Regions from separate parts of the Homo sapiens genome. Here regions 1, 2, 3 and 4 are each linked to region 5. The links are contacts of gene promoters, found by promoter capture Hi-C in blood cells and fetal thymus (Javierre and others, 2016). All regions are on one chromosome and are shown on one strand. The core of a region is centred on a gene start or on the middle of the fragment in contact, and the rest is flanking DNA. Distances in the headings are between cores, read along the strand shown. Region 1 overlaps TEX2 (testis expressed 2). Region 2 overlaps ERN1 (endoplasmic reticulum to nucleus signaling 1). Region 3 overlaps ERN1 (endoplasmic reticulum to nucleus signaling 1). Region 4 has its middle 2.1 kb from the start of SNHG25. Region 5 holds the start of CD79B (CD79b molecule).

The links. The method cuts DNA at HindIII sites, captures the fragments that hold promoters and counts their contacts. A CHiCAGO score of 5 or more calls a contact.
Region 1: a contact is called between a fragment that was not itself captured here and the fragment with the promoter of CD79B in region 5, in 3 of 17 cell types (total CD4 T cells, non-activated CD4 T cells and naive CD8 T cells). The highest score is 5.9, in total CD4 T cells.
Region 2: a contact is called between a fragment that was not itself captured here and the fragment with the promoter of CD79B in region 5, in 6 of 17 cell types (total CD8 T cells, total CD4 T cells, naive CD4 T cells and 3 more). The highest score is 7.4, in total CD8 T cells.
Region 3: a contact is called between a fragment that was not itself captured here and the fragment with the promoter of CD79B in region 5, in 1 of 17 cell types (total CD4 T cells). The highest score is 5.1, in total CD4 T cells.
Region 4: a fragment that was not itself captured here is called in contact with the fragment with the promoter of CD79B in region 5 in 7 of 17 cell types (total CD4 T cells, non-activated CD4 T cells, total CD8 T cells and 4 more); the score reaches 10.4 in total CD4 T cells.

The regions. Positions count from the first base shown.
Region 1 is chr17:64,161,655-64,165,506 of GRCh38, forward strand. All of the region lies in intron 7 of TEX2 (testis expressed 2), which reads right to left. Among named protein-coding and RNA genes, the nearest start is that of SNORA50C, 17 kb to the left of the region's middle. The HindIII fragment of the contact is 7,291 bases long and covers 1-3,852 here.
Region 2 is chr17:64,074,492-64,078,517 of GRCh38, forward strand. It overlaps ERN1 (endoplasmic reticulum to nucleus signaling 1), which reads right to left. Exons shown (of 22, transcript NM_001433.5): 5 at 684-756. Among named protein-coding and RNA genes, the nearest start is that of ERN1, 54 kb to the right of the region's middle. RefSeq lists an enhancer at 195-274 and a silencer at 458-752. The HindIII fragment of the contact is 755 bases long and covers 2,036-2,790 here.
Region 3 is chr17:64,097,629-64,101,399 of GRCh38, forward strand. It overlaps ERN1 (endoplasmic reticulum to nucleus signaling 1), which reads right to left. Exons shown (of 22, transcript NM_001433.5): 2 at 493-613. Among named protein-coding and RNA genes, the nearest start is that of ERN1, 31 kb to the right of the region's middle. The HindIII fragment of the contact is 5,385 bases long and covers 1-3,771 here.
Region 4 is chr17:64,141,912-64,145,764 of GRCh38, forward strand. No RefSeq gene overlaps it. Among named protein-coding and RNA genes, the nearest start is that of SNHG25, 2.1 kb to the right of the region's middle. RefSeq lists an enhancer at 3,746-3,853. The HindIII fragment of the contact is 2,002 bases long and covers 326-2,327 here.
Region 5 is chr17:63,930,831-63,934,742 of GRCh38, forward strand. CD79B (CD79b molecule) reads right to left here and starts at 1,501. Exons shown (of 6, transcript NM_000626.4): 1 at 1,365-1,501; 2 at 505-555. The coding sequence starts at 1,431. RefSeq lists a silencer at 351-420 and enhancers at 1,118-1,507, 1,481-2,151, 2,008-2,117, 2,128-2,177, 2,751-3,912 and 2 more. The HindIII fragment of the contact is 15,563 bases long and covers 1-3,912 here.

The sequences.
Region 1 (3,852 bases), core at 951-3,450, 230 kb after region 5:
TGGAATTTTACTGCAATGGCCGCTGTTCAGTGGTTTAAAATGCAAACAGGGTTTATCTCATGACCCTCTTCTACTTGAGGATTCTATGATTTGTCAAGTATTTTTCTGTGATTTTTCAGACTCGGGGCTCCAGAAGACCTCATGGACTTTCTATCAAAATGTGATCCTTTAAGTGGGTGTTTAAATGTTAATAAACTTTTATAGATCCTCACATGACAAATGACATCTAAAAGGAAGCAGGAAATTAATCTAAAACCATCGTTCACATACAGCATTGTTTTCAAGCAATTACAGTAAACAGCCCATCCCCTACACGGCCACCACCTCAGATAAAACCACTGCTTAACCCCACCCAGCACTAATGGTGTCATTCCTCACTAAAGGCAGGATGATTTCCATTTTGTTTTCAACAAATTCTTTTTACCATAATGGAAGGTAATTATTTTCCATGAATGACCTGGTTTAATTAAGTGATATGGAGATCAATTGTGATTATCTTCTTTGCAGCAATACTCACAAAACTGTTGTATTTCTTGTTTACATTAAGCAGTTAGAAAGAATTAATTAGCTTGCTCTTCAAAGGTACTATTACTGGAAATAAAGGGTATATCTGCTTTAATAAAGACATTTAGTTTTTAATCACTTCAGGAGAAAGGGGATTAGAGCAAAAGGCTAATATTAATAGATTTAAACTCAATGTAAAAGAACAACAATAAAGGAGATATTTATTGTTGTATAGTATTTCCAGCTTTGAAAATTAATATTCAAACTACCTAGTTACTATATACATCCAAACATAATCGTTTCTTTTGAAAATTCTAGTCAAGTTTCTAATAAATATTAATAGTATGCGTTGCCTTTGAAAATGGACATATTAAAGGCACCAGAATTATACTTCTTACAAAATGGAAAGTTTTGCTAGTCTGTTTTTTAAATGAAGATATATGGATTTAGGCTTAGTAAACTGCTGGCTCATGCCCAGTCACGGGGACATTCTACCAAATGATGTGTGGTCCAGCGTCCCTGCCAGGAGCTGGGAGGTGGAGGAAGGCCCAGGGAAGAGCAAGGAGCCCAGTCACATAGATTGGGGCTTGTGTTTCACTGGAAGTTTCTTCACTTCTGTGCCATCAGTACCTTTGTCTGCACCAAGGAGACCTATACTGCCTCTTTCAGGGAGAGCTGTGTACACCCTGGCACCTGGCACAGTCTGACCAGGCAGCCTCCCTTTTTCTGCATTCACCAGCCCACCCTTACTTCTTGCTCTGTCTCCCTTGCTGCTGTTGCCAGGGAAGAGGCTGTACTGGTCAGCCATGGAGCCTGATATCTGAGGATGAGGCTTGGGCATCTGACTGAGCCTCTGCCTGGGTGAGGGGTCTGTTTTAAACACTGAATATACCTCATGAGACCCACTCACAGGGCCCTGCTCAGCCCTGGCACTCATAAAAATATGAAAGAGTCAAGAATGCTTTAAGAACTTTTTTCTTCCCTGAGATGGGGTCTCACTCTCACCCAGGCTGGAGTGCCACCTGGTACGATCTTGGCTGACTGCAACCTCCGCCTCCCAGGCTCAAGTGATCCTCCCACCACAGCCTCCTGAGTAGCTGGGACCACAGGGGTCCGCCACCATGCCCGGCTAACATATATATATATTTTATTTTTGGTAGAGATGGGGTTTTGCCATATTGCCCAGGGTGATTTCAAACTCCTGAGCTCAAGTGATCCACCTGCCTTGGCCTCCCAAAGTGCTGGGATTACTTTGGGAGGTGTGAGCCACTGCACCTGGCCTGGAATGGTTTAAGAACTTTTAAAAGCAGACATGAATGGTAAATAAATATTCCAACAAATGACTCTAATATGATGTGCTTGCATTCAGATGAGGGTAAGAAGACTATTTTAGCATTAAGTGTAGGAGAAATTTGCTTTTGTAACAATGATTCAGCAGGCAGAACGTGACCTGAAAACCTGGGGACACGGGCAACTCCCAAAACTTGGAGCAAAGACCAACCGGTTACGTGACAGGTGAGTCAGGAGGCCCCTGCCTTGCAAGACTGAAAGATGAAATTCACAGTTACTAGAAAGGTTGTCTTCCCCTTGGGGACTAACATAGCAACAATGAGCACACGGGGACATACACTGCCCCATGAGCACCATCTTCCACTGTAACCCAGCTAAATGCTACTTAATCTAGAGGAATGCGGTTACAGGGCCCTTTCTTTTGTAGTCTTGACAAATGGTTAAGACTTAGCTGTAGGCATTTCACTGAAAATACTTTCTATAACCATGTGCCCTGGCTGGTGCTCAAGAACAAAACCAGAAATTGAGGAGTGGGATAATCTTTGATGCCTTTAAATAGGAGTAAGCAGGCAGTCCTGAGAGGTTCTCTGGGAAAGGGGGCTGGAGGCACGCATACGAAGGGTCTATTCCACATCATGTTGAGAGGTTGTCCAGTGGTAACCAGTGGCACCCGATTATTAACGAGCCCCTATAAAACTGGCACTTCAGGCTGGGCACAGTGTCTCACGCCTGTAATCCCAGCACTTTGGGAGGCTGAGGCAGGCGGATCACTTGAGGCCAGGAGTTCAAGACCAGCCTGGCCATCATGGTGAAACCTCGTCTCTACTAAAAATACACAAATTAGCTAGGCATGGTGGTGCGCACCTGTAGTCCCAGCTGCTAGGTACGCTGAGGCACGAGAATGGCTTGAGCCTGGGGGGCAGAGGTTGCAGTGAGCCGCGATCGCCCTACTGCACTCTAGCCTCTGTCTCAAAAGAAGAAGAAGAAAAAAAAAAAAAACCCTGGCACTTCATGCAGCAACACGAGTGACAATGTAGTAAGACTTAGTCTGTGTACAAGGACCTGGAAGGAGCTCAGATGCTGTTTTTCCACTCTTCAGTTTCACAGCGGCAGGATCAATTACCACTACCACCACTACACAGAGACACTGTGGCAAAAATTACAGCTTATTCCACCAAAAAGCGTGTATGCGTTCTTAATGTACAATATCAGAGCCAAAAGCACTGAGATGAACCCCTGCCCTCAGGAAGTGTATGTTTGAAGAAAAATAAAAGTGGCCTAGGCCAGCTGCTGCAGCTCAGACCATGATGCCAGTTGGTATCATAAAATGCCTTGGCGTATGTCCCCACAGATAAGGGGTGGCCACAACCACAAGAGGCTCTTCTGCCTTCGGCCTGGTTTTCCAGTTAACAGACCCCATGGCCTCAGTCCTCCCGTGGCCATGTGAATCTAATAATCTCACACAGCAGTTCACTGTTTTATTACTATTTAGGCATCTGTCTCACTGGAGTAGGCTTGAGAGGGCACCTGCTGCTTGGGAGTAGTTAAGGGAACCAAAACCCTGCACACCTGAACTTGGTCCTCACGTTATTTTCTCCTCCATTTCCTTCTACCTGTAACTATTAACAGCTGATTTCACTCTGAAAGTCAATATTTGGCATCCAAAGAACAAAACTTCTTAAAATGGAACATTTGATAACATTATCAAGAACAGATGTTGGAGTTATTCAGCTCTGGGAAGAACACACCAGTGACTGTTGTGCTCCTGGCAAAGAGACTGGTGCCATATTGCTCATTCAGATACTACAGAAAATTAGCAATTCCTTGTGTGTGGATGTGTCTTTGATGATAGACATCATTTTTAGCCTTATCTACCTGTAACTGTCCTCTGAAATAGAGCTCCACCCCTTCAAGGTTGACAAGCTGCAAATCAGGGTCCCCTGTCCCCCACCCGACCCATGTTCCACAAGAGGTATGATTTCCCCTTCCCACACTAAGCCCTTTCCACACTAAGTGTTTTTCTTCCCGTAGCACAGTCTGGTCAGAGCCACTCCTATC
Region 2 (4,026 bases), core at 1,163-3,662, 140 kb after region 5:
GTCTGGCCTGCACTTGAGACCCAGAAATACACATAAAGCTCCTCGAGGCATGAATAGGCAATAAGCACTTTCAGTTCCTCAAAAAGAAAGCTGCTGTATAAATACGGGCTATTATTGCTACTATGATTTCAAGATAAATACAGCTCTCCTTTGTGTTGCAAATGCTTTTTTATTGACATTTTGGCAGCAACATAGTAAAAGAAAAGCAGGTGATCTGATGCTTTGAAAGCTGTGACCCCATAGGTATGAAGGCAGTTTATCTAGGCAAGCTATTAAGTGCTGTTCTATCAAACATTCTGATAGCAGGAAATACTAAGAAAGCGCTATAATTAACAGGCAGAGCCTGGCTTTCCTTCCTTGGCTTAGATGATTGTACTCACTTTAAATTTCATCCATTTGCCACTGGGTATGTTGCAATCTTGGAATCTCAGGACTAAGTCAACACAGCAACTAAAAGCTTGTTAAATGAGTAACCATATTAATGATGTCAATTCTTCTCCCAAGTTGGGGGAGCCCTTTCTTAATTGGTCAGCTGATCCTGGGGAGAACAGCACCTGAAGCACAACCCAGGAAAGAAAGGGTTGGCAAGGCGGTGACTGCGCCCTCTCTCTCCGCATGCCACTTTCCCAGATTCCGGGACTTACATCAAAGAGACACAAGTTTCTGGAGACAGGAACTCTTACCCATGTAGAGGATTCCATCTGAACTTCGGCATGGGGATGCCTGCACCAATTCTGGGATGGTAAAAGGAAGTTTCTTTAAAAAAAAAAAAAAAGAAAAAAAAAAGTTAACCAAGTCTTGTGCAATTATTACAATTTTACCAGGCAGTTTGTTTCTATTACCTAATTCTGCTAAAAAGAGAGAAGCACTTTGCAGATGAGAGTTTTCCTAACTGAATACAAAGGAGAAGGGGGCACCCTATGCTTCCACATCTACTGTGTTTTTATTTTCATTTTTTTGAGACAGGGTCTCATTCTGTCGCCCAGGCTGGAGTGCAGTGGCACCATCTTGGCTCACTGCAACCTCTGCCTCCTGGGTTCAAGTGATTCTCTCACCTCAGCCTCCCAAGTAGCTGGGATTACAGGCATGTTGCCACTACACCCAGCTAATTTTCCACATCTATTTTGACAAGCTCCCAGGTCCCTGAGCTCTGTAAACATCCACTCCTTTACTTGACACCATGTGCAGAGGCCCCTCAAGGTCTCCTGTCCAGGGTGCTTCCCAGGGGTGACACAAACCTTTTCTGAAAAGATTTACACAAATATGGAGAGTTATATATTCTTTGAAATGCTAAGAAAGAATTGTCCTGGCTTGGAATACAGAGCCAGAGCTGGCTAGACTGAGTAAAATGACAGTGCTTTGTAGAGCCCCATGGGAGGGAGCCAGGACATTGATGCTGAAGGGATGCAACCTTGGTGCCAAGCTCAAGCTTCGAGGGAAAGGAGAAGTCGCCATTACAGGGGCAACACAAGAGTTTGAGGTGGAAAAGAGTTTTGATGTTTTCTTCAGTAAATAATTCACTATTGAAAAACAAGAAAAATTGAGACTTTTGGTTTTAAAGAGGAAGTTAAGATAGGTGCCAGGAAAAGAAACTCAAAGGAATCCAAATGTTTCAACTGCATTTCATCATAAAACTGATTCTTCTGAGTCTACAGCTGACATCTGACGAGCTCTTTTGGTTAATGCTTGTTTCAGTATACTTTATTTTTAGAACATTCTGTGTTTTTGAAATTGTTCTATAGATACCTGCTTTTATAGAAATGCCTCTACTGCATGGTCACCTTTTTCTCCAAGAAAGAAAAGATTTCTCTCTAGCTTTAATAAGCAGAGCTTTGCATACTAAATAACTTGGATTTTCCCATCATCCCAACATTCAAACCAAGCCTCAGAGGAGGAAAAATGCTTCAGAGAGGCTGCAATGACTGGGTTTTGCCATGTGTTTCTGAGAATCAGAAAGGCACTGCAGATCTTCTAGTCTTCTGGAGTCCTGTGGTCTCTGCTGAGCACTGCCACTGGTGCCCTGATTCAAGGCCCAAGCTTGGGAAACATTGTTTCTGGAGCTGCTAAACCACAACCCAGAAAGGAGCACAAGGGAGTGATGAAGGGCATCCTCTTTTTTTTTTTTTTTGAGACGGAGTCTCACTCTCACCCAGGCTGAAGTGCAGTGGCGTGATCTCGGCTCACTGCAAGCTCCGCCTCCCGGGTTGATGCCATTCTCCTGCCTCAGCCTCCCAAGTAGCTGGGACTACAGGCGCCCGCCACTGCGCCTGGCTAATTTTTTGTATTTTTTAGTAGAGACGGGGTTTCACCGTGTTAGCCAGGATGGTCTCGATCTCCTGACCTTGTGATCCGCCCGCCTCGGCCTCCCAAAGTGCTGGGATTACAGGCCCGGCTGGGCATCCTCTTTAAGAACCAACTCCAACACTAGAAGACTCAGCCCTGGACATATTCCTTCACTTCTCCAGGCTGTTTCCACACCTCTAAAACGGGGATATCACCCACAGGGCTGCTGAGAGATTCCAATGAGATAACTTATACAACTCACTCACCCCAGTTTCTGGCAAACAAATTGCTTAAGAAATGGGGACTACAGAGCTGTGGAGAGAAACCAACGGAGAGCAGTGTTGAAGGTGAAATACACACAGCTCTATACAAACTTGCCCTCCTCCCCTCTGTTTTGGTCACAGGCATTCACAAAATAATTTTAAAACACCCAAGTTAAAGTCCACAATCCACTTACAGCCTAGATCAGTGGTTCTCATCCTTGGTTGCCCATGAGAATTACTTGGAAGCTTTAAAAACTTCCTACTGATGCATAATACGCAAACAGAAAAGCACTCATCATCACACAGCTCAGTCAAGTTTCACAAAGTGAACATACCCACGTAACCGGCATCCAGGTGAAGAAACAGAAGCCCCCCTCCTCTCTTGCCCCCCTTTCTAGCCATAACTCTCCAGGGGTAACTATTATCCTAACTTCAAAACAGCAGAGACTCGTTTTTCCTGTTTTTGGCTTTACATAAGTGAATGGCAGCGTGTGGCCTTTTTTGTCTGTCATGTTTTGCTCAACATCACGCTTGTGAGTCATCCGCGGCGTGTGTCGTCATAGACTGTTGGTCCTCATCACCGTGCATGCCGCTTCCAGAGTTTATTTTTCCACTCCACTGTGGATGTTATTTGGCCACCCTCTGCTTATTATAAATGGTGCTGCTGTACATTTGGGCACATGTCCATTGGTGAACAAAAGTGCATTTCTTCTTTTTTTTTTTTTTGAGATGGAGTCTCGCTCTGTTGCCCAGGCTGGAGTGTAGTGGCGTGATCTCAGCTCACTGCAAGCTCCACCTCCCGGGTTCACGCCATTTTCCTGCCTCAGCCTCCCAAGTAGCTGGGACTATAGGCGCCCGCCACCGCACCTGGCTAATTTTTTGTATTTTTAGTAGAGACGGGGTTTCACCATGGTCTCGATCTCCTGACCTCGTGATCCGCCCACCTTGGCCTCCCAAAGTGCTGGGATTACAGGCATGAGCCACCGCACCCAGCCACAAATGTGCATTTCTGTTGGGTCTGTAACCTAGGAGGGCATTACTGGGTCCTAAGGACTTTAGCACTTACTGCCAACAGTTTTCCAAATCACTTGTGCCACCCTGCACTTCCGCCAGCAGTAGGTGAGAGTCCTGGTTGCTCCACATCACCAACATGTTTTCTTTTTCTACTTTCCTTGTTTTGGCCATTCTGGTGAGTAGCAGTATGGCACTGTGGCTTTAATTTGCATTTCCAAATGACTAATAAAATGGAACATCTTTTCATATGTTTATGACCATTTGGATATTCTCTTCTGTTATTCTTCCATTGGGCTGTCTTTTTTTAACGTACCATAGGATTTCTTCATATATTCTGAATATGAACTTTTGTTGGATGTGTATACTACAAATACTTTGTGGCCTCTTAATGAGGAAAAGTTCTTAATTTTAATATAATCAATATATTGATTTTTTCCTAAATTTATAGTGTTCTTTAATATCCTAC
Region 3 (3,771 bases), core at 13-2,512, 170 kb after region 5:
CAGTCTTTATTCCCCTCACCATAACAACCCAATAAAGTGGTTAACTTGGATGAATGTCAAATCTTACAGCCCTCTATTATTTCAGCCTCTATAAAAACAAATGAGTAATTTGAGGTGTTGAGAAGATACCTTCTTGTAATTATGATTACAAGATTCTAATCATGAGAACAAATTTAGTGCAGCATGTCTTCATAAAGACCAACTAGCTAGAGCTATTAATAGAAAAGCCTAGAGCCATTTTAACATGAAGTCTAAACAGAAGCAAAAAAGAAGATAAAACGTGCTTCTTTAACTGATGCACTTAGTGGATAACCACAGCAAAGCTATAAACGTCCTTTGAGCAGAATGCCTTTTCCTCTCTTGATCCCATTCTTCTTTATTTCTTATTTATTTTATTAGATAATGAGTAATGTTTTCTCTTTCTCCAGAATATGTTTCTGTGGAACCAGTTAAGCAAATGTCCATGTCGCCCAAGGACCAAATCCAAATTACCTTCTTTTAAAGTCCATTTGATTGAGCCTGTCCTCTTGCTGACAGCATGCAAACTTCCATCCAGCGTTGACACAAACAACAAGGTTTCAGGAAGCGTCACTGTGCTGGTACTTCCAAAAATCTGCAACGAGATGTAGAAGACTCTTAATGTTGATATGATTCTTCACCTTGGGCATGTACAATCACAGACCCCCCACTCCCAAGGTTATCCTACTAAAACCCTCCATTTTACAGATGAAGAAATGGAAGGTGGAGAGCCTAAATTCCCACTCAGTCAGGACTAGAACCCAGGTCACCTCACTCTAAGCAGTGATCCTGCCTGCAGACAGGCAGGCTCATGACCTAACATTACAAGGACAAGAATTCTGAAATAATCCATGGGCAACCTCCACTGAAACAGAGGGGCAAAGTATGCTCAGCTTTCTGACTTCCTTCTCTTGGGCCTATTCTATTCTCTAAAACCTGGGCATCTCATAAGACGTTATGATAAAAAAGAATGCCAATACCCACGCATACACACATTCATGAAATTTTAAAAAGCAAAGAATTAGGGGAAAATGCTTAAAGCAAAATAGGAAAAACAGCTTTCATTATACAAAGAATTTATAAAATAAAACACTAAGATTCCAGTAAAGATATGTTATAAAAGTAAATGAATAAAAAGCATAACCCCAAACTGGTCCTCACTTAGAATAAAAATAAAATTTAAATTAAAATGTACCTTTTTTCTCAACAAACTTAAAACAAAACAAAAAAAATTTTAAAAGAAATAACCAAAGGCTGTGACATTTCCCATCCATTGCTAGTAGCACTGAAAATTACTAGTATCATCTTTCTGGAAAATATAAAAGTGCTCTTAGTTTTTGATCCTGTAATTCCACTTCTATACTCTAAAGAAATAACTCCAGAAATGGAAAAAGTTCTGTGCACAATGATACTCATGACGTCCCATTTATAAACACAAAAACTGGAAAGAACCAAACTTCCAATAATATCTAAATGGCTAAGATAAATAAAGACATATGTTCAGTGAAATAATTATCATTAAAATAACACTTGGAAAAATCTACAATATAGAAAAATGCTTATATACATTATCAATTAAATATAGAATCCAAGATTTGATATCCACTGTGGTTACAATTATACTGGACAGATTTTTTTTTTTGTCTGCCTGTCTTCTGGCTTTGCTAGGAATTGTACCCTCATTCCACAGGGTTTCCATGGGAGCAGGTGTGTGCGCACATGTACACACGGACGCATATGCAGGTGACAGCTGGTAAGGTTTCCTGGATAAGATTTCCCTTTTGAGGTAGGGGTCCCTTCAGCAACCCCACCCTTGTAATGAGATTTTCTCTTCTTTTGTCACATACTATCCTACAAATAGCTTTTTCCCCAGGTCTTCAATTAAAAAAAAAAATGCCAATGCAACTTGCTTATACTGCAACAGTTTGAATTCTGGCACAAATGCTATTTTTGAAATACAGAAGTATGGAGCATTAAATGTAAAAGGATTGGGGTTATTTGTGCATGGGAGCCTGATCCCAGAAGGCCCGGCTACTCTCGGTAAGAGCCAGGATGCCTAGTTAATCCTTCAAAGGGAAGGCCCCACAGGCTCTCTCTGGGGCAGCCTGAGGTGGCAGGACAAATACTCTGGGGTCCCGTATTCCTTTTCTGTGGTGGAGACCCACCAACGGAGGGAGTGAAACAGCTGCTAGAACTTTGCACATCCCACCTCTTCGCTTTGCCCAGGGCCAGGGCCTGGGCCCACTCCCTGGAATGGGAGAAAGGACAGTAAGCTGTGTTGCCACCTACCGAGTCTACTCTGTGCAAAGCCTGAAGTCTGAGGAAGAAGAGTGCTTTTAATTCTACCTCTGGAACTAGGAAATTAATATCAGAGTATAAATCGGCCAGGAAAACATAAGCCTCAAGGGTGGTATCTGCCCTAGCCGGGGATGCAAAGGTCACTGTTTGGGAGTGGTTAGAATTATTTCAGCCCAGAGGGTCCAGATGGTGACAAGCCACCTGAACCACAGGTACCTGGGCCTGGAGAACTGTGGCCCTATGACAAGGCCACTGGGAGTTCATGAGTAAACAGGGGCTAAGTGAATTGGGGCTGTCTGCCACTGAGGAGGGGGAATGGGTGTGCAGCTTGGTGTGGGATGGCTGGATTATGTTAGGTGTGACAGTTTGGAGGATGAATAAATGAAAGGGCAAATTATGCATACCTGGGGCCAAGAAGTGGAAATCCCTGCTGAGCCCTCCTCCACCCCCCAAAGTTACCACAGGAATAACCACTCTGTACAACAGGTCTTGGGAGGCCACACAAGAAAGTGAGTTAAACTCTGGGTGGCTAAAGTGGAAATAAGGCCAGGCGTGGTGGCTCACACCTGTAATCCCAACATTTTGGGAGGCCAAGGCAGGCGGATCACTTGAGGTCAGGAGTTCGAGACCAGCCTGGCCAACATGGTGAAAACCCATCTCTACTAAACACACAAAAATTAGCCAGGCATGGTGGCATGTGCCTGTATTCCCAGCTATTCAGAAGGCTGAGGCAGGAGAATTGCTTGAACCTGGGAGGTAGAGTTTGCAGGGAGGTTACACTGAGCCAAGGTCACACCACTGCACTCTAGCCTGGGTGACAGAGTGAGACTCTGTCTCAATAAATAAATAAATAAATAAATAAAATGGAAATAAAACTTCAGAGAGCTCTGTGAATGTGTTTTCTGCCACATGGAAAAAGCTGAATGAGAAAGACACAGAAACAGAAAGCAGCCTGAGAAGAAACATGACTGAAAGGACTGGGAGAGCCCACCCTGGCTTCCACAGCTCCTCAGGCCCAGCTAAGTTCTTGCCCTTGGGCTCAGAGACCCTCCAGTCCTTACAATAAATTCCCCTCTTTGCTTAAGCCTGTTAGAATTAGGTTTCTGTCACTTGCAGCCCAAACAGTCCCCACCACACACCCAATGAGGAAAAATGCAGATAGAAAAAGGGAAAAAAAGGGCCAGGCGTGGTGACTCATGACTACATGTAATCCCAGCACTTTGGGAGGCCGAGGCAGGCAGATCACTTGAGGTCAGATGTTCGAGACCAGCCTGGCCAACATGGCGAAACCTCGTCTCTACTAAAAATACAAAAATTAGCCGGGCGTGGTGGTGGGTGCCTGTAATCCCAGCTACTAGAGACGCTGAGGCAGAAGAAATCACTTGAACCCAGGAGGTGGAGGTTGCAGTGAGCTGAGATCACGCCACTGTACGCCAGCCTGGGGGATAGAGCGAG
Region 4 (3,853 bases), core at 77-2,576, 210 kb after region 5:
CAGCACTTTGGGAGTCCGATGTGGGTGGACCACTTGAGGTCAGGAGTTCAAGACCAGCTTGGCCAACATGGTGAAACCCTGTCTTTACTAAAAATACAAAAAAAAAAAAATTAGCTGGGCATGGTGGCATGTGCCTGTAATCACCATATTGGCCAGGCTTGTCTCGAACTCCTGAACTTGTGGTCCGCCCACCTCAGCCTCCCAAAGTGCTGGGATGACAGGCGTGAGCCACCATTCCCGGTCACTATTTGGAAATTAACATCATTCTTCTAAATAACCCATGGGCCTTTTCTGCCTCAACTGCTTCCAGGGCACCTGTGGAAAAAGCTTGTGATGAGGTGGGGCAAAAAATAGAAGCCAGTTCTCAAGTTCACCTTTGATTGTACCCACCCTACAGAAGATGGAATCAATTTACAAAAATTTACCAAATTACAAAAATTTATTAAAATGATTTTAGTAAAATTAGATTTAAATTAATAGAAATTGCATTTCTATATACCAGCAATGAACTCTTGGAAATTGAAATTTAAAAATAGTATCTCTCATGTTAGAGGCTTGACTAAAAAAAAAAGAATAAATATAGTATCATTCATAATAGCATTATAAATGAAATCCTGAGGGATAAATTTCACAAAATATATGCAAGATTGTACAATGAAAACTATGACATTGCTGAGGGAAATGAATAAGACTTAAATGAAGAAATATACTGTATTCATGGGATGAAAGACTGAGTGTTGTTAAGATGTCAATTATTCCCAAATTGATCTACAGATTCAATATAATTTCAGGCAAAATTCCTACTGGTCTTCTGTAGAAATTGACAAGCTGATTCTAAAATGTTTCTGGAAATACAAACAACCTAAAATAGTCAAAATAATTTTGAAAGAGGACAAAGTTACAGATCTTGTATATCTGATTTTAAGATGTACTATAAAGCAATGGTAATAAAGGGTAGATAAATAACAGTGCAAAAGAAGATACTGCTTAGAAACAAACCAACTCATATATGGTCAATTTTTTTTTTTTTTACAAACATGACAAGGTACTTTAAGTGAAAGGATATCCTCTTCAACAAATGGTGCTGGAACAAGTGAATATCCATATACAAACAAATGAACCTAACTCTTGTCTCACACTAGACACAAAAATTAACTTGAAAAAGATAATAGACCTGAATGCGAGAGCAAACACTATAAAACTTCTCGAAGAGCGGGCGCAGTGGCTCACGCCTGTAATCTCAAGAAATTTGGGAGGTCAAGGTGGGCGGAACACGAGGTCAAGACATTGAGATCATCCTGGCCAACATGGTGAAACCCCATCTCTACTAAAAATACAAAAATTAGCCAGGCATGGTGGCGTGCGCCTGTAATCCCAGCTACTCGGGAGGCTGGGGCAAGAGAATCACTTGAACCTGGGAGACAGAGGTTGTAGTGAGCTGAGATCGCACCACTGCACTCCAGCCTGGTGACAGAGCGAGACTTCGTCTCAATAAATTAATTAATTAATTAAATTAAATTAAATTAAACTTCTAGAAGAAACCATATAAAAGAAAAATCTGTATTAGGCCAAGATTTCTTAGATATGAAACCAGAAGTACTGTCTATTAAAAAATTGATAAATTAGATTTTCATCAAAATTAAAAATGTCTCCTCTTTGAAAGACACTGTCAAGAAAATAAAAAAGCAGGCCAGGCACGGTGGCTCATGCCTGTAATCCCAGCACTTTGGGAGGCTGAGGCGGGTGGATCACTTGAGGTCAGGAGTTCAAGACCAGCCTGGCCAACATGGTGAAACCCCGTCTCTACTAAAAATACAAAAATTAGCCGGGCATGGTGGTCCGTGCCTGTAGTCCCAGCACTAGGGAGGCTGAGGCAGCAGAGTCGCTTGAACCCGGGTGGCAGAGGTTGCAGTGAGCCAAGATAGTGCCACTGTACTCCAGCCTGGGCGACAGAGCCAGACTCTGTCTCAAAAAAGAAAAGAAAAGAAAAGAGAAGAGGAGAAGAAAAGAAAAGAGCAGGCCGGGCGCGGCGGCTCACGCCTGTAATCCCAGCACTTTGGGACGCTGAGGCGGGAGGATCATGAGGTCAGGAGTTTGAGACCAGCCTGGCCAATATGGTAAAACCCCATCTCTACTAAAAATACAAAAATTAGCCAGGCATGGTTGTGCATGCCTGTAATTCCAGCTACTGGGGAGGCTGACGCAGGAGAATTGCTTGAAGTCGGGAGGCGGAGGTTGCAGTAAGCCAAGATTGTGCCACCGCACTCCAGCCTGGGCAACAGAGTGAGACTGTCTCAAAAAACAAAACGAAACAAGTAATGGAGCAAAGCTTCTGTTGCTCCACATCCTCACTGGCATTTGGTATTTGAGGCATAATCTTAACACATCACAATCAAAGCCAACAGCCAACTTCCAAGCAAGTACATAATACACAAAGCAGAGCTGTGGACAATGTAATTACAACACAACTAAGGTTGAATTAATAAATAAATATTTTATACCATGTTTGTACTTGATAGTGAAAACATCTTCGTTTCAACAATCTGTGGAACACTTATAAAAACTGATATTTTAGGTCACAAAGAAAACTTTCATACATTGCCCAATGCGGAAACTGTACCATAATGTAATAAATGTTGAGATAACGAAAGTTAAAACAGCAACAAAAATAAATAGAGACTACTAAACACTTGTCAAAGTCATTATTGCTTTGGATTAAAGAGGTTTTTTTTTTTTTTTTTGAGATGGAGTCTCGCTCTGTTGCTCAGGTTAGAGTGTAATGGCGCGATCTCAGCTCATTGCAACCTCCGCCTCCCGGGTTCAAGCGATTCTCCTGCCTCAACCTCCTGAGTAGCTGGGATTACAGGGGCCTGCCACCACGCCCGGCTAATTTTTGTATTTTTAGTAGAGACAGGGTTTCGCCATGTTGGCCAGGCTGTTCTTGAACTCCTGACCTGATCCATCCGCCTCCGTCTCCCAGAGTGCTGGGATTACAGGCGTGAGCCACCGCGCCCGGCCAAAGAGGAATTTTTTGAATTTAAAGTCTATATAGAAAATAAGGAAAATAAGAGCCCATTCAACTACAAACCCATAGGGTGAAATGATTTCACTGTCACATACACACACACACACAAAACAATAAATTTTCCGTATTAAGAGGAAAAAAAGGAAAAGAATTCCCAAGGAAAACAGGGAGGCAATAAAGATAACCGGCGACTGTGACTGCTGGTGTACTGTGTCCTCCCCCAGTTAAGCAAACTATCATTCATCCACCTGTATGTCCGGGGAACAGGCTCAATCAACTCTGCGAAGCTTTCCCAAAGTCAGGCTTTCTGTCCTTTGGGCTTCTACAGTAGGCTGTTCATAGCGCTATGTTAGTATTTATTAAAGTTTTGCAATCCCAGGAAGTTTTTCACATCACTCTGCCCTTTAAATACCTTTGTTTACCACTTAGAATGTGCCAGGCAATTGGCATTAATTCACCGAATCCTTACAATTTTTTTTTTTCGCGGTGTGTGTGTGTTGGGGGGGGGCGGCGGGGGGGTATTCCTAATTTCCAGAAACTGAATCTCAGAAAGGTTAACTGAGCAAGGTCACAGAGCGAACGCATCACAAAGTCAGGATGTGGTGCAGATCGGTCCATTTTCAATACAAGCTCTTTCTACCACGACAGGTTATTTTGCACTTGGGGACAGTTTTTAACTTTCCATTCTCAACTCCTATCCTAGCTCCTGGCACAGAACATGTCATCCAAGTTAGGCATCATCGTCGCCTGCTCTTGGTGAAGTTTTCTTTTGCGTACTGCGGAGAGATGCGCTCATTACCAGCTGGCGGTGGAGTCGCTGAAACGCAA
Region 5 (3,912 bases), core at 251-2,750:
AGACCTTCCTCAGTCGACCCCCTCCCTGCATGACTTCCCTCTATCATCCCCCTCTTCCCTCCTGCAGGGACTGGGTCCACTTCTTGTTCCAGAACCCTCTTTCCAGCTTCGACTGCCTTGTTCTTAGTGAGCACTGCCCGGGAATCCCTGAGCCCCTCACATAGTGACCCTGCACTGGAGGGCTCACCCGAGACTCAGCCAGATTCCCAGCTAGACAGGCCCGGGCCTGAGTCCTAGAGGAACCCCCAGGCTCCCTTGCTATGACCCAGAGTTTAGCCCAGCCCTTCAGTGGCCAAGGCTGGAGGGCATGTGTCTGATGAGGATGACAGTGGGCTGGGGGTGGGGCTCAGAGGAGATCCTAAGGAGGCCTGGGGATGGGAATCCTGGATGGGGAGATCAGGCAAGGGTGGGAAGGCGGACCGCCCCCAGGACAGGGACCATAGTCGGACACAGGACATAGTCGCACACAACTTGCCCTCAGAAGCGGCAGGCGAGGCTACTGACCTTTGGGATTCCGGTACCGGTCCTCCGATCTGGCTGCTGGTACTGGCTCAGCTGCTGGGTGGGAGGAAGTGGGCGGGGCCAGTCAGGGCCTCCTCTGGCCTGGGCTGCCCCACCCCTGCATGCCCTCTATGTTCCCGGAGCTACTTCCTCCTTCCATGACAGCAGCTTCAAGACCCCTCGGTCCTCCCTGCCCCCAGTACTTGGGAGACAGATATGGGGTGGGGGTACCGGAAGCCCTGCCCCCAGCCCCCTTTCTGCCTTTGACCCTCATGGTGGCTTTGAGCAGGCATCTGAATGAGACAGGAGGGACAGGGAAATCTCAGTATTTTGAGAGGCCAAGACAGGAGGATCGCTTGGGTCCAGGAGTTTGAGACCAGCCTGGGCAACATAGGGACACCCTGTCTCTCTTTTTTTTTTTTTTTTTAAAGAGAGACAGGAAGAAAGTCACAGCCCGGAGGATCTTTCACCTCCCAGAGGAGGGGACCACATTTGGATCTTGCATCTTCCAGGGTCCGGTTGGGACAGCCTCTCCCCTCCCGACCCCCAGGCACCGCCCTCAGCCTCTCTTCCTCCTGAGCCTAGTTCTTCCACGGTCCTGGTTGCTAACTCTGGTTTGCTCCTCATGCCCAGCTCAGCCTGATGCTCTCCAGGCAGGAGAGGAACTGGGGCCACAGGCTCCTGAGCCCATCACCACGTGCAGCTGACACCCACAGACCCAGGCCCCAGGGCCATGAGAGGGAGACAGGCGGTAAAGAGTGAGAGACAGAGGAGGAGGGTGGAGCAAGCAGGAGGCAGAGCCGCAGGGCCCAGACAGCTGGAGATGAGAGCAAACCCCACAGGCCTCGTCGTGGGTTCTGTACCTGAGAGCAGCAGCAGCAACGCCACCATCCAGTGGCTGGGCACAGGAGACAACGCCAGCCTGGCCATGGTCACCGCTCTGTCCCCGACCCCAAACCCGTGACAACGTCCGAGGCTCCTTGGAGGAAAACGTGTAACTGCACCGGCTGCAGCCTGTCCCCTCCCCGCCTCTTCCTCACCAGGCCCCTTCCTGCCATGCAAATTGGGACCCAGGGGAGGCACCAGCTCTCCGGGGACCCTGGGGGAGGGCAGGCTTTTGTCAGCTGGGCCGCTAAGGTTTGGCGGTCGCCCAGCTTGGGCAGCACAGCTGGGGTCCTCTGTGGATGCCTCTGGGGGGCCTCTCAGTCTTCTGGGGGAAGCCTGTGCTCCCCTCTGTCTGTGCTTACCCCACCGGTGGTCATCCCCTGGGCCAGCCAGCCTCCCCTCTGCCGTCTGCCAACTCCCCGAAGGGCCGAGCCCGGCAAGTCTCTATTCCTGGGCCGTGAGCGAAATAGGCACCTGTCCTATGAATGAACCTGAACTTAGCTCCTCTGTCCTGAACTATTCCTCACCCAGCGGGAAGAGGAGCACTGAAGAAGGACAGGGCAGCCACAGACCCAGGTCAGGCATCTGGAGGGGCCCAGAGCAGAGCCTCTTGGCTGGAGTGCAGGCAGCCATGTTGGAAGTTGACCCTGTGGAGGATGGGAGCCACAGAGGTTCTGGAGCAAGAGCAGGTCAAGTGTGGCAGCCACTGGGAGAAGATTCAGTCCAGGTCTTGGTGAGAGGCCTCCCTTCCTCATGCTGTGAAAGAGTATGTAGGGGCTGCCAAACAGGGTGGATGTAGGTGGAGACAGCTTTGCGAAAATCCACCACGCAGCCACTGGGGGCTTCTTCAGGGAGTTCTTAACTGTGGGACTCTGAGTGCGTTGAATTGTTGTCTGCAGGTCCAGGGGGTCTTGGGCAGGGAACAGGAGCTGGTGTGGGGGAGCCCTCAGGTCCTCCAGCTGTATCCTGCCTGTCCTCAGAGTGCTGGATGGAGCCACAGTGCTCAGGAACTGATATAAACTCACCTTTGCGCCCCTGCCCCTGGGTCCAATGCAGCCCCTTCAGAGATGCCCTTGTGCAGGGCACAACATGCACAAGTGTACACAGCATGCTTGCAGACCTCAGCCCTGCAGCTGAGCCCTCTGAATTTTATGTTTCCTGGCAGCTTCTTTTTTGTCTCTCATCCTCGACCCCCAGGAGAGGAAGAGATGCTAAATCGTCGGTGCCCTCTGTCCACCTCTCACTCTCCTCACAACCCTCCGTTTTCCAGTCTGTGCTGGGGCAGGTCTGTCTGGATTTAGGGAGAAGCAGAACCACCTCCCATGCCATGGTTGGAAGGCAGAGGGTCTGGGTGGTCCCTCTTTAGATCTTGGCCTAGGCCTCGGACCTGATAAGGTGGGGGCCACTCTCAAGGGGTGCAGGCCAGGACCTGAGCCACGGAAGTCAGGGGCAGGAGGGTTAAGGTTTCATCCGAGGAACAGCCCGTTCCGGGCAGCCCCAGATGTTCTTTCTTGTTTCCAGATGTTCCAAATGAAAAAACATTTCTCTGAAAAGCTGTCAGATGTTCAGTTCATGGAATAAACAGCTCAGAAATATAAACATCACCTGAGGTCAGCTTGAGGCCCATGGGCCCGCATGCTGGTGAGGGTGGCTGGAGAGAGACTGACCCGGGGGGAGTGGGGCAAAATCTGGGAGTCTCATGGTTTAGGAAATACTCTTCCTGAGCCCCTAACGACAGAGTCCTTCATTAACTTTGGGGCTAGTGTCTCCCCAAAGTTGGGGGGTATAACTGGGAAAGGCTTGGGGCACACGTGTTTGTGGGGGGTGTGTGTGTGTGTGTATGTGCATGCTCACACAGGTGTGTTGCCTGGACCCTGTGGTGTGGGGCCTACTCTGGAGCTGGTCCTAGGGCTCAGCGGACTGTAGGGGGCACGGAGGTTGGTGGGGGGCAGTTGGCACCCATCCTCAGGTGACAGGTGCGCTAAAATCTCAGAAATCACCACTAAAGAACTTATCCAGGTAACCAAAAAAACTACCTGTACCCCAGAAAATATTGAAATAAAAAATTTAAAAAAACAAGTGAGAAGCAGCTCCCACTCCAGGGAGGGAAGACACACACATCCCGTGGACAAGGATGCAGATGTGGCCTTTGGGCTTCATTCCCATTCATGCCGGGCAGGGATCTGTTTTCAGGAGGGGCGGAGGCAGCGGGGGCCCCACCGCCTGCAGGGTTATTTGTCACATTTTGAGCCGTGCTGTTCCCTCACTGGTGACAACAGCCCTGAGCCCCATTTTGGGCTCATGATGCCCTTTTCTTCCCAGAACAGGAGGCCTCACAAGCCTACCCCTGCCTCTGCCCTCGGCTGCCCGGGGCTTCACATTCTGACTTCTGACGACACCTCCCTTTCCAGGAAGGCAACATCAAAATAAGGAATGGGGGCCAGGGTCGGGCGAAGGGACAAGGGGCTCAGGGGGTGGGGAAGCAAGAAGGCAGCGACCCCCAGCCACCCTAGGATGCCGGGAGGG